Regions from separate parts of the Homo sapiens genome. Here regions 2 and 3 are each linked to region 1. The links are contacts of gene promoters, found by promoter capture Hi-C in blood cells and fetal thymus (Javierre and others, 2016). All regions are on one chromosome and are shown on one strand. The core of a region is centred on a gene start or on the middle of the fragment in contact, and the rest is flanking DNA. Distances in the headings are between cores, read along the strand shown.

The links. Contacts are between HindIII fragments. The CHiCAGO score rates a contact against its expected background, and 5 or more counts as called.
Region 2: a contact is called between a fragment that was not itself captured here and the fragment with the promoter of KANSL1 in region 1, in 17 of 17 cell types (M0 macrophages, monocytes, M2 macrophages and 14 more). The highest score is 77.6, in M0 macrophages.
Region 3: a contact is called between a fragment that was not itself captured here and the fragment with the promoter of KANSL1 in region 1, in 1 of 17 cell types (M2 macrophages). The highest score is 9.1, in M2 macrophages.

The regions. Positions count from the first base shown.
Region 1 is chr17:46,191,664-46,195,231 of GRCh38, reverse strand. KANSL1 (KAT8 regulatory NSL complex subunit 1) reads left to right here and starts at 1,803. Exons shown (of 15, transcript NM_015443.4): 1 at 1,803-2,409. KANSL1-AS1 (KANSL1 antisense RNA 1) reads right to left here and starts at 1,659. Exons shown (of 2, transcript NR_034172.1): 1 at 1,494-1,659. The HindIII fragment of the contact is 13,741 bases long and covers 1-3,568 here.
Region 2 is chr17:64,923,366-64,926,933 of GRCh38, reverse strand. No RefSeq gene overlaps it. Among named protein-coding and RNA genes, the nearest start is that of LRRC37A3, 5.7 kb to the right of the region's middle. The HindIII fragment of the contact is 2,912 bases long and covers 422-3,333 here.
Region 3 is chr17:64,906,998-64,910,565 of GRCh38, reverse strand. All of the region lies in intron 2 of LRRC37A3 (leucine rich repeat containing 37 member A3), which reads left to right. It overlaps LOC105376844 (a long non-coding RNA gene), which reads right to left. Exons shown (of 4, transcript XR_934912.4): 4 at 801-971. Among named protein-coding and RNA genes, the nearest start is that of LRRC37A3, 11 kb to the left of the region's middle. The HindIII fragment of the contact is 1,909 bases long and covers 828-2,736 here.

The DNA.
Region 1 (3,568 bases), core at 554-3,053:
GCTTTGCCTTATTTGGTATTTTTCATTCTGCTAATTTAGATTTCAGGAGCCTCAGATTGGGGCTCTAGTTCGCCATCTGTTGGTCCAATACCCTTCTACTGTATTTTGTGGAATTACTATTTATGTGTGTATGTGTGTACAATAAAAAAGTCAAAGTTTTTCCCCAGGGTTGTAAATTAAAAATCCAAGACTAAAGACCTCTTTTGGATGTGTATACAAATATTAGTTTATTCTTTGTGTAATTTGACCCTATGACTCCAAACTGCCTGCCTTTGGTATTTGAGAACTATGACTATGCTTGAGAGTGTGATTTTAGGAGTACAAATGGAAATTCGCAGAAACCTAGGTGCAGATGTTGCAGGGGCAGGTGAGTTAGTGTAACTTTGTGGGAAGACTAAAACCGTTCTGTAACGACTGTGAGGGTGTTTTTTGATAAGCAGAAGTGACGTATAATGCCGGATATTGGTTCTGGTAAGCCACAAAAAAGTGTGAAGCATTTTGCGTCTTCCTTTTTGGTAGTAGAGCATACATACCCTTCTTATCTGCCGAATTTGATGATTTAATGATTTGAACGATTTTTTCTTCAGTCATTTAAGCCAGTTTTGATGAATCCTAGATTAGTCTTTTAAATCTCAAGATACTCCACTCATCTTTTGGCAACTTTAAAGGGTGGTAGAATTACACTTTGTGTGACACTTTGTATTACATTATGTTTATGAATTCTTTAAGTCTAGGAAAGGTTCCATTATTTTAAAGGTCCTATTTTGGGGACAATATAAAGTTCTGTACTGATAAACTGGTCATGAGAAATGATAAGGTGCCACCACTTTAAACCAACTCTGGTAACGAGGTGGGAAGTTGGCTTTTTGTTGTGAGACTTGTGTTTCTTTATGGAGTTCTTTGTTAAACTTTTAGCATGGCAGTGAACTTCCTTTTGGTGGCGGCAGGAAGCATAAATACTCATTGTGTAATGCCATTTGCCTGTTTTGGCGGATCTGCCAAGCCATGACACCCAAAACAAGACGCGTGTTTCTTCACGAAAACTACAGTTCCCAGCGGGCCCGGCGCCGGCGGGGCCATCACTTCCCCTCTGGCTCCCGGCTGTCCCTTCCCGGGCTGGCCCGGCGCGGGCCCTGGCTGGGGCCTGCGCAGTGACTACGTGCACCCTCCCCACCCCGCCCAACTCTGGTGGCTGCGGAGCGCGGTGCTGGGGCTAGTGCCCAGCCGTGCTGCAGTATACGGAGGCTGGCTGCTAGGGACAAAGGGCGGGCGGCGGAAGCCGCTTCACTGGTCAGGGAGCTTTCTGCAGGGTTAGCCTTGGAATAGTGTGGTGCCGACGGCCTTACCCTCTTTACTACACAGTGCAAACAGTTCCTCGCTCACGTCCTCTCGCTCCGCGGCGCCGGCCCGCCCTGCCCCTCAACTGGCGAGCCGCACCGCCGGCCCCAGCACGGAGGGCATGTGACGGCGTCAGTGCCTCAGGTTAGACTCACCTCGGCCGCAGCGAGGGCTGGCTTCCCCCTGCCGCAGTGCTGCGTGCCGTCGCCGCACGTCCGGGGCAGCTGGGGCCGGGCGCCGCGGCCTCCGCAGATGGAGGTACAAAAACATCGGCCACGGCGAGGAGCCATGACTGAGGCGGCGGCGGCCGCGCCTCCTGGCGGCCCGCGGGGGCGGCGCGGCGGGCGCCCCCTGGCGGCGCGCCGGGGTGGAGCGGCCCTTCGCCGCCGCAGCCGCAGCCGGCGGAGGCGCTGCTGTCCCTCCTCCCCGTGTCCCCGGCGCTCGCCCGCTTGCTCGCTCGCTCCATTCTCCCTCCGCTTCAGATTAAAGGGGGGGAGGGAAAAGGAGCTCGGCCGCCATTTTCCCAGTGCCGCCGCCACCGCCGCCACCGCTCGCCGAGCCGGCGGGAGAACCGAGCACCGTAGCGAAGCCGACTCGTCTCGCCGCGGCGGCGCGGGGGGCGGCTGAAGCGCGCTCCCCGGCTGGAAAGAGGCGGCCGGGGGTGGCGGCCTGGGTGCGGGTTCGGGCTGCAGACGGCGGTGCTTGTTTGTGCGGGGCGGGGGGGCGGTTTCACTCTCTGCCCCCGCCCGCCCGCCCTCCCGGCCGGGCTGCGGTCTCCAGCCGTGCTCGGGCCCCGTCGGTGCGGAGCAAGGCCGGGAAAGGGCCCGAAAGAGAAGAAAAAGCAGCCGCTCCCCGCCGCCGCCTTCCCCTCCCCCTCTGCCTCGCCCCCCCGCCCGGAAAGTCAGGGCGGCTCCGGGCGTCGGGGGGAGGAGAGCGGCGGGCCCGGGCCGGAGCCGCCGTCGCGCGCCCCCGCCCGCCGCTGGCCCTCGGCGCCCAGGCCGGGGGGCTGTTTGCAAACTGCGCCCATTTTGTGGGGCTGAATCCGCCCGGGCTACGCTCCTCCATCACGTGGTAGGTGCTGCTGCTGCTCCTCTCCTCCTCCTCCTGCTGCCCTTTCTCCTTCTCCTCGCTCTCCCTGTGGCTCCCATTTCTCTCTCTCTTTGTTAGTTGTAACTAGAAAGGCAGGGCAGGGTAGAAAAATCCCCCGGAACTTTAAATGGCCTCTCCGGGCTTCCCTGCTGCGGGTCCGGGCTGGGAGTCGCCCCAAGGGCGGGGGTGTGCGGGGGCCCTTCCCCAGGAGCTGCCGCCTCGTTCGCCAGCTTTTCCTTTGGCGTTCTATTTAAAAAGGCGGCCTGAAGAACATGATTTATTCCCGTAAAAGAACCCCCCAAACAAACTCTGGCTCTCGCCTTGAACTTCTCTTGACTGCAAAAGGCCTTTCTCTGCTCGAAACACACATCTTGGCGCGTTGCACGGTTTGTATCACAACTCTGATTGTTTCATTTATTATTTTTGTTGCCTGTAAATTCAGGTCACTTACGTTTTCAGATGTAGTCTCCCTCAGGCGGACTTTTTTTTTTTTTAAACTAAAGAGGAAGAGGGATTTATTTGCTTTTAAGTGAGTTGGAATCTTAACTGCCTTTTTGGGGGCCTGTTTTCCGGCTGACGGTCTTTTGATTCTTAGCAAATAGTTTGTTTTCCATACGATAAACAGCGCTACTCCCGTGTCTTACTTAAAAATCCTCGTTTTCCAATGTTGGAATCCCAATGTGGATTTATAGAGAAACGTGCTACTTAACTATTGCTTACTGATTGCTTTAGGGGAGAAGGGGTGACATGATGGCGCCACTTTAAATTGCTCTCTTTCCTTTTCCTCGGTCCCCCCCACCCCCCTTTATCCTGGAGGTCACTGGAGCATTTTCTGTGACTTATTAATAAAACTGTACTTGAGGGTGTTAGAAGCACAACTCGTAGGGGCTGGAGTTTAGTGCTCCTAGGGTCGGCAGACCGACTGCCGCGGTCCCCAAAGTTCCGAGAAATCTCTCTTCCTCCAGCCTCGCCTCCCTCCCCTCCATTCACAATCCTGGTGTTGCCATCTCCTTTGTCACGTGGCTAGCAATCATTGTGTTTTTTTGTTTGTTTTGGGGTGTGTGTTTATATTTTTAAATTGCAGCTCAGAGGAACCTTTCCTTTTCGCTTTGGAGAGATCAAAACGTTTTACTTGTTTTAG
Region 2 (3,568 bases), core at 628-3,127, about 19 Mb before region 1:
TGGGCAGCGGCCTGGCTAATTAACGGGTAGGGAACATGGAAGGAGCTGCTTCAGTTCAACATCTGGGACATGGTATGGGGAAGGATGCAAAGATAGTTATCCAGAATCTGTCTACACTGCTTGGCAGGGTCTACACTGCCTGGCAAGGCGGAGCTGTGTAAGTGTGTGATTGTGGAGTGCACAGTGGCCTCTGTAATAAAAGACCTAATGACAAAAGAAAAAGTAAATGTAACAAACGCTTATACAGTGTGTCTACAAGTGTTGATAGGCACAGTGTAGGAACATCATGTCAAAGTCATAGTGAGAATTACCATGAATCACAGGGAACCAGGCTGGCCTTGCTGATACCATTGGCACTCCTAGCTCTACCAAGGCATTTCTTGGTAGATTCACCTAGAGGAATGGAAGTCGTCCTCAAGCTTCAAATTGACCTGCTTCATGAATGTGAAGGAATAATATACGGTTATGTAGTTTATCCTGTTACCACTAACTTTTTTCTTTTTTCTTTTGTCTCGCTGTATAACCCAGGCTGCAGGGCAGGGGCAGGATCACGGCCCCCTGCAGCCTGGACCTCCCAGGCTCACATGATCCTCCCACCTCAGCCTCCCGAGTAGCTGGGACTACAGACGTGCACCACCAGGCCAGGCTTTTTTTTTTTTTTTTTTTTTTTTTTTGACAGAGCCTTGCTCTATCACCCAGGCTGGAGTACAGTGGCATGATCTCGGCTCACTGCAACCTCTGTCTCCTGGCTTCAAGCAATTCTCTTGCCTCAGCTTCCCAAGTAGCTGGGATTACAGGTGTGTGCCACCACATCTGGCTAATTTTTGCATTTTTGGTTGTGCCACGTTGGCCAGGCTGGTCTCAAACTCCTGACTTCAGGCAATCCACCTGCCTTTGCCTCCCAAAGTCCTGAGATTACAGGTGTGAGCCACAGGGCCCAGCCTCTTTTCATATTTTTAAAAAAAAAGTTTTAACGAGCAGTGAGGACGACCAGAGGTCACTTTCGTCACCATCTTGGTTTTGGTCGGCTTCTTTACTGCATCTTGTTTTTTCTTTTTTTTTTTAAGACTGGGTCTCACTCTGTCACCCAGGTTAGAGTGTAGTGGCACAATCTCGGCTCAGTGTACCCTGCACCTCCCAGGCTCAAGTGATCCTCCCACCTCAGCCTCCCAAGTAACTAGGACCACAGGCACGTGCCACCAAGCTCAGCTAATTTTTTGTATTTTTGTTAGAGACAGGGTTTCACCATGTTTGCCAGGCTGGCCTTGAACTCCTGACCTCAGGTGACCCACCTCAGCCTCCCAAAGTGCTGGGATTACAAGCGTGAGTCTCTGTGTCTGGCCAACATACTATTGTCTCAATATGCATTTTGCCATACTTTTTAAGTGCATCTCTTCTGCTATCCTGTAGTACAACTTACTCTTGGAAATGATCAAAGCAAACTATATTACCCTAGGGACAAACCCATTGTGATTGGCATCCACGAACAAACTTGGTGTAAAGAAATCATATCTACGACCAAGAGGATTTCTTTCTCATTTGGAGATAAGAGTTTCACTTTGTCACCCTGCCTGGACTGCAGTGACATAAACACGGCTTGCTATAGCCTTGACCTGCCAGGCTCAAGTGATCCTCCTGACTTAACCCCTCAAGTAGCTACAGGTGCTCACCACCATGCCCAGCTACTTTTTTTTTTTGTAGAGATGGAGTCTTGCTGTGTTGCCCAGGTAACTTACCTCCTGAGCTCAAGTGATCCGCCTGCCTTTGCCTCCCAAAGTGCTGGGATGACAGTTATGAGCCACCTGTACCCAGCCATAAGAATATTTCTTAAAATCTGACTTAAAATTTTTTTAAAAATTCTTTTAGAGATAGGGTTTCACCATGTTGGCTAGGCTGGTCTCGAACTCCCGACCTCAGGTGGTCTGCCCACCTTGGCCTCCCAAAGTGCTTGGATTACAAGTGTGAGCCACTGTGCCCAGCCAAAATCTGACACATTTATAAATTTCTACAATAATTTTAAATACCAAAAATATTCCCAAAACGTTTCATCATGATTATTTTTCTTCCCAAATCTTATAGTCTCTCAGAAAAATAACTTAGCCCACGTTTCCTTTAAAGAGTTTTTAATTTTTTTAATGAAGGGCCGAATTAATTTTATTTTTCCTTCTTTAAAAAAATTCGTCCAGCACAGTGGCTCACACCTGTAATCCCAGCAGTTTGGGAGGCCGAGGGCGGAAGATCACTTGCGTCCAGGAGCTCAAGACCAGCCTGGACACATGGTGAAACCCCATCTCTACTAAAAAATACAAAAATGAGCCAGGTGTGGTGACGCATGCCTGTAGTGCCAACTACTTGGAAGGCTGAGGTTGGAGGCTCCCTTAAGCCTGAGAGGTGAAGACTTCAGTGAGCTGTGATGGCACCACTGTGCTCCAATGTAGATGACAAAGTGAGACCCTGTTAAAACAAAACAAAACAAAACTTTTTTTTGGAGATAGGGCCTCACTTGATCGCCCCGGCTAGAGTACAGTGGTGCTATCATGGCTCACTGCAGGGTCGACCTCCTGGGGTCAAGCAGTCCCCTGGCCTCAGCCTCGCCAAGTAGCTGAGACTACAGGTGTGCATCACAACACCCAGCAAATTCCTTTTTGTAGAAACAGGGTTTTGCCATGTTGCCCAGGCTGGTCTCAAAATCCTGGCCTCAAGTGATCCACCCACCTCAGCCTTTTAGAATGCTGGGATTACAGGCTGTGAGCCACAACTCTCTTGGCCTATAAATGATAATTTAAGTGAATCTCTGAAGCTACAGTTTTTTGTTTCGACATGGAGTCTCGCTCTGTCGTGCAGTGGCATGATCTCGGCTCACTGCAACCTCCGCCTTCTGGGTTCAAGTGATTCTCCTCCCTCAGCCTCCCAAGCAGCTGGGATTACAGGTGCCTGCCACCATGCCTGGCTAATTTTTGCATTTTTAGTACAGACGGGGTTTCGCCCTGTTAGCCAGGCTGGTCTCGATCTCCTGACCTCAAGTGATCCTTTCACCTCAGCCTCCCAAAGTGCTGGGATTATAGGCATGAGCCATTTCGCCCAGCCTCTGAAGCTATAGTTTTATAGATTCTAAAGCAGAGACTTCATATAGCTGTCTATGAAAAGCCAAAAACAAACAAAAAACCCACAGAAAAACCTGATTCCCCACGCCAAAATTTCAAGGATTTGCCTAAAGGTAAGGTCCATCTGTACCTGAAATAAAGTTTGCTGTGCCTCTTTTTTTGCAGGGTCACCCAGCCCTATGCACCAATTATACTAGTAACAATCATTACATGAGTACCTCAGGAAGCTTTTAAATATATCACAAATATTTTACCAAATAAACCTGAATGGCCCTGGTTTAATGAAACTGTTTCTCTGTCTATAGACTATCTAGTCTTATAAAGTCAAAAGAGAAGCAATGTGACAAATTATTCAACAGCCCTTCTCTATTTATAGAGAGAGACTGAACTTCTTCCTTGGTTAGAAAGAAAACCTTGAGTTTCATTTCCTAGTTCATATATTTTTATAACATCGTGGGACAGAT
Region 3 (3,568 bases), core at 533-3,032, about 19 Mb before region 1:
GTCTGAAAACGTAGGAGTCAACTCTGAAAAATCTACAGTGGTTTCTGGGGTTCAATCTTGGCATGACTTTACCCCTGCATCTCTGCCCTCGGCAGGTAGTTTTGTTTATGGGTGTCATTGGTTGAACAAATAATTGTTTTAGTTGCTACAATAAATAAAACATGATCTGTGCTCTAAAGGAGTCAACAGATGAGCCAGGGGGGCATGAGTAATTGCCTGTAATATAATTGTGCTCACGCTGTCATGGAGGACCGTACAAAGTGTCAGAAGCACAGTGCCAGGAGGCACAGCAAAGGGTAGTAGAGGTGACATTTGAGCCCAGCCTTGAAAACTGTCTAGGATTTCTCAGCATTTCAGCAAAGTAAGGCAATTTCTGTCTAAAATATATAGGCAAAGTTTTTATTAAAAATACGAGAAATTAATTAAATAACAGATTATGACCACAATGCAGATTTAAAAACTAAGGTATGATGAGTGCCGTTGACCGGTTCATCCAGACAGTTCAGAGAACAGAACATCCATGTAGATCCTTCTTGTATTACAGAATACAAAGGAGCGGAAAATTTTGCCTCAGTAACTGCCAGGTCATTCTAATTAAAGTACCTATACATTGTAATATAATTCCTCCATTAAGGTAACAGCCAATCAGGTGGTACAGAGTCTGTGCCATTCAGTCAAGAAATTCACTCCCTTAACCTAGACTGTGCTGGAAATTCATTGACAAATTTTGTTCTTTGGTTCTCCATTTTTCTTCAGAATTCATGCAGACCACTTGACTTCCTTAGCAGTTTCTTTTGTGGGCGTACATTAATGTCTTTGGTTAAGCTTCAGCTTCCGTTTGCATCAATCCTGTTGTAATCGTGCCTCCTGAGGCATCTTTTTTGCTTCCCTTGCATCAGTTTCCAAAATCCTACTTTCTGCTTGGTAAGGGGAGTATCCATTTTCTTTAAAGCAGTGGTTTTCAAACTTGCCTGCACATCAGAATTATTTGGGGAGAAGGATAAAAATACAGATTACTGAGCTTCACCTGGGATTCTGTAGATTTGAGTTGCATTTGGGATTACTTTAAACAATTTACCAGATGATTTTTGTGGCACCTCCACTTCAGTTTTAGGAAGGACTGTTTCAAGGCAGCTTTTCAAACTTTAATGACCATAGAAATCACCTGAAGATTGTGAGAAACTGCAGATCCTGATTTAGTAGGCCTGGGTTTAGGCCTGAGGTTCTGAATTTCTCTGAAATGTGATAATAGCAAATCCCTCGTTGAGTAGCAAGGTTGTTTTTTGTTTTTTTTCTTTTTTTTCCAATATCTTCATGACATTCAATGAGTAGCAAAGTTCGAAGATAACTTCTGGAATTTCATCTAATGTGTATTAATTTTTACTCATCTGGATCTTAGGGGAAATAACCTATCAGATTATAGGGAAGTGTTTCTCAAAGTATGGTTCCCCAAACAGCACAACCTGGGAATTGTTAGAAATGCAAGTTCTGGGCTGGGCACTGTGGCTCATGCCTGTAATCCCAGCACTTTGGGAGGCTGAAGCGGGTGGATCACCTGAGGTGAGGAGTTTGAGACCAGCCTGGCTAACATGGTGAGACCCCGTCTCTATTAAAAATACAAAAAAAATTAGCTGGGCATGGTGGTGGTACTTCTTAAAATATTTTTAGAGAGGCAGAGTATCCCTGTGTTGCCCAGGCTGGTCTCTAAATCCTGACCTCAAGCAATCCTCCTGCCTCAGCCTCTTAAGTAGCTAGGTACAAGCCACCATGCCCAGCTATATTGACTTGTTTTTGAGACGGAGTCTCTGTTGCCTAGGCTGGAGGGCAGTGGTGCGATCTTGGCTCACTGCAACCTCCGCCTCCCGGGTTCACGTGATTCTCCTGCCTCGGCCTCCTGAGTAGCTGGGACCACAGGCATGCACCACCATGCCTGGCTAATTTTTGTATTTTAGTAGAGATGGAGTTTCACCATGTTGGCCAGACTGGTCTTGAACTCCTGACCTCAAATGATCCACCCCCGCCTTCGCCTCCCCAAAGGTGCTGAGACTACAGGTGTGGGCCACCACGCCTGACCATATATTTACCTTTATGTGAATTTAAGATGTGTGGGTGTGACCAAGTCGTCTGCCGGCTGTTATATAAAGGAGACTTTATCATCAACATGCTCATCATCAGTCACAAACTGCCTATTTGGAACTCCCTTCAGTTCTCAGAGGATGGAAACATTCTTTAAGCGGCCTTGTAGAAATCCTATTCCATGTTAATATGCCAACCAATTTTACTTTCCCAGAGCCACAGAAGGATATCTCATTGTATGCCTCAATTCAATCACCTTTCCATTTTCAAGGACCGATTTCAATTCCTGATTGGCTACTTGATCTGACTGCTTCCTGCTAATCTTGTTGCCTATTGTCTATATATATTCCATTTCTCATTGAATTAACCTTGATCAAATCTGAGAACTCTGCTTAGTAATGACTCCAGGTATACTATACCCACTTTTGTAGCTTATTCAACACCCTCTTCAATCCTGGTTCCACTTCCTGTGACTGAAATGATTACCTGTGGAATATTCTTCAACTTTTGGACTATGATGTGTTTCTAACCTGTGACCATTTCACATAGCCACTCAAATATGGTAAAGGTACGGTAAAGATGATGAAACAGTTACTTGGTATCATTTTGTAAGTAATGAGTTTTTAGTGTGCTTTGGACCTTGAGACCACTTCATAAGCTTTAGATTTTGAGAATTTCACAGCATAAAGCTCATCGCTGATGCAGTAATGAAGGAAATGTTCTACAAGTTAATAGATGAGTGAGAGGAGAGGGCATTCATATTAGATTTATTTACTTACTGAACTCAGAGCCTTGGGTTACTGCTTGACCCCCACTGTTATCTAGTTTAAGGGTCCTTTTATTTTTTGTTTTTTTGAGGTGGAGTTTCACTCTTGTTCCCCAGGCTAGAGTGCAATGGCCCGGTCTCTGCTCACTGCAATCTCCGCCTCCCAGATTCTCCTGTCTCAGCCTCCCAAGTAGCTGGGATTATAGGTACCCACCACCACGCCCTGCTAGTTTTTGTATTTTTAGTAGAGACAGGGTTTCACCATATTGGTCAGGCTGGTCTCGAACTCCTGACCTCAGGCAGTCTGCCCACCTCAGCCTCCCAAAGTGCTGGGATTACAGGCATGAGCAACTGCTCCTGGCCTTAAGTGTTCTTTTCTACTTTAGCACATGCACCTAGTTCCTGTCTTTTTTGGTTTTTATAAATACAGAAAAGAGAATAATGTTTTAAAATCAAGGAAAGGCCTAAGGCATCTGTGAGGGTTTTTTGTTTTTGTTTTTGTTTCAGTGAAATGAAGGGAAATGGTCGCCAGCAAGAACTGTGGCAACGTTATCCAAGGTGACAACTGTCTGTACCACCCAGGGGCTTAGAGCCCTTCTGAAGTTTCCTAGATGTTCCGAAAGTCTCCACTGTGACTCATGATACAGGCTGGTCTCCGTGGTAGCACTCAACGTTTAAAAATTAGTCTTCATTGCCAGGCGTGGTGGCTCACGCCTGTAATCCCAG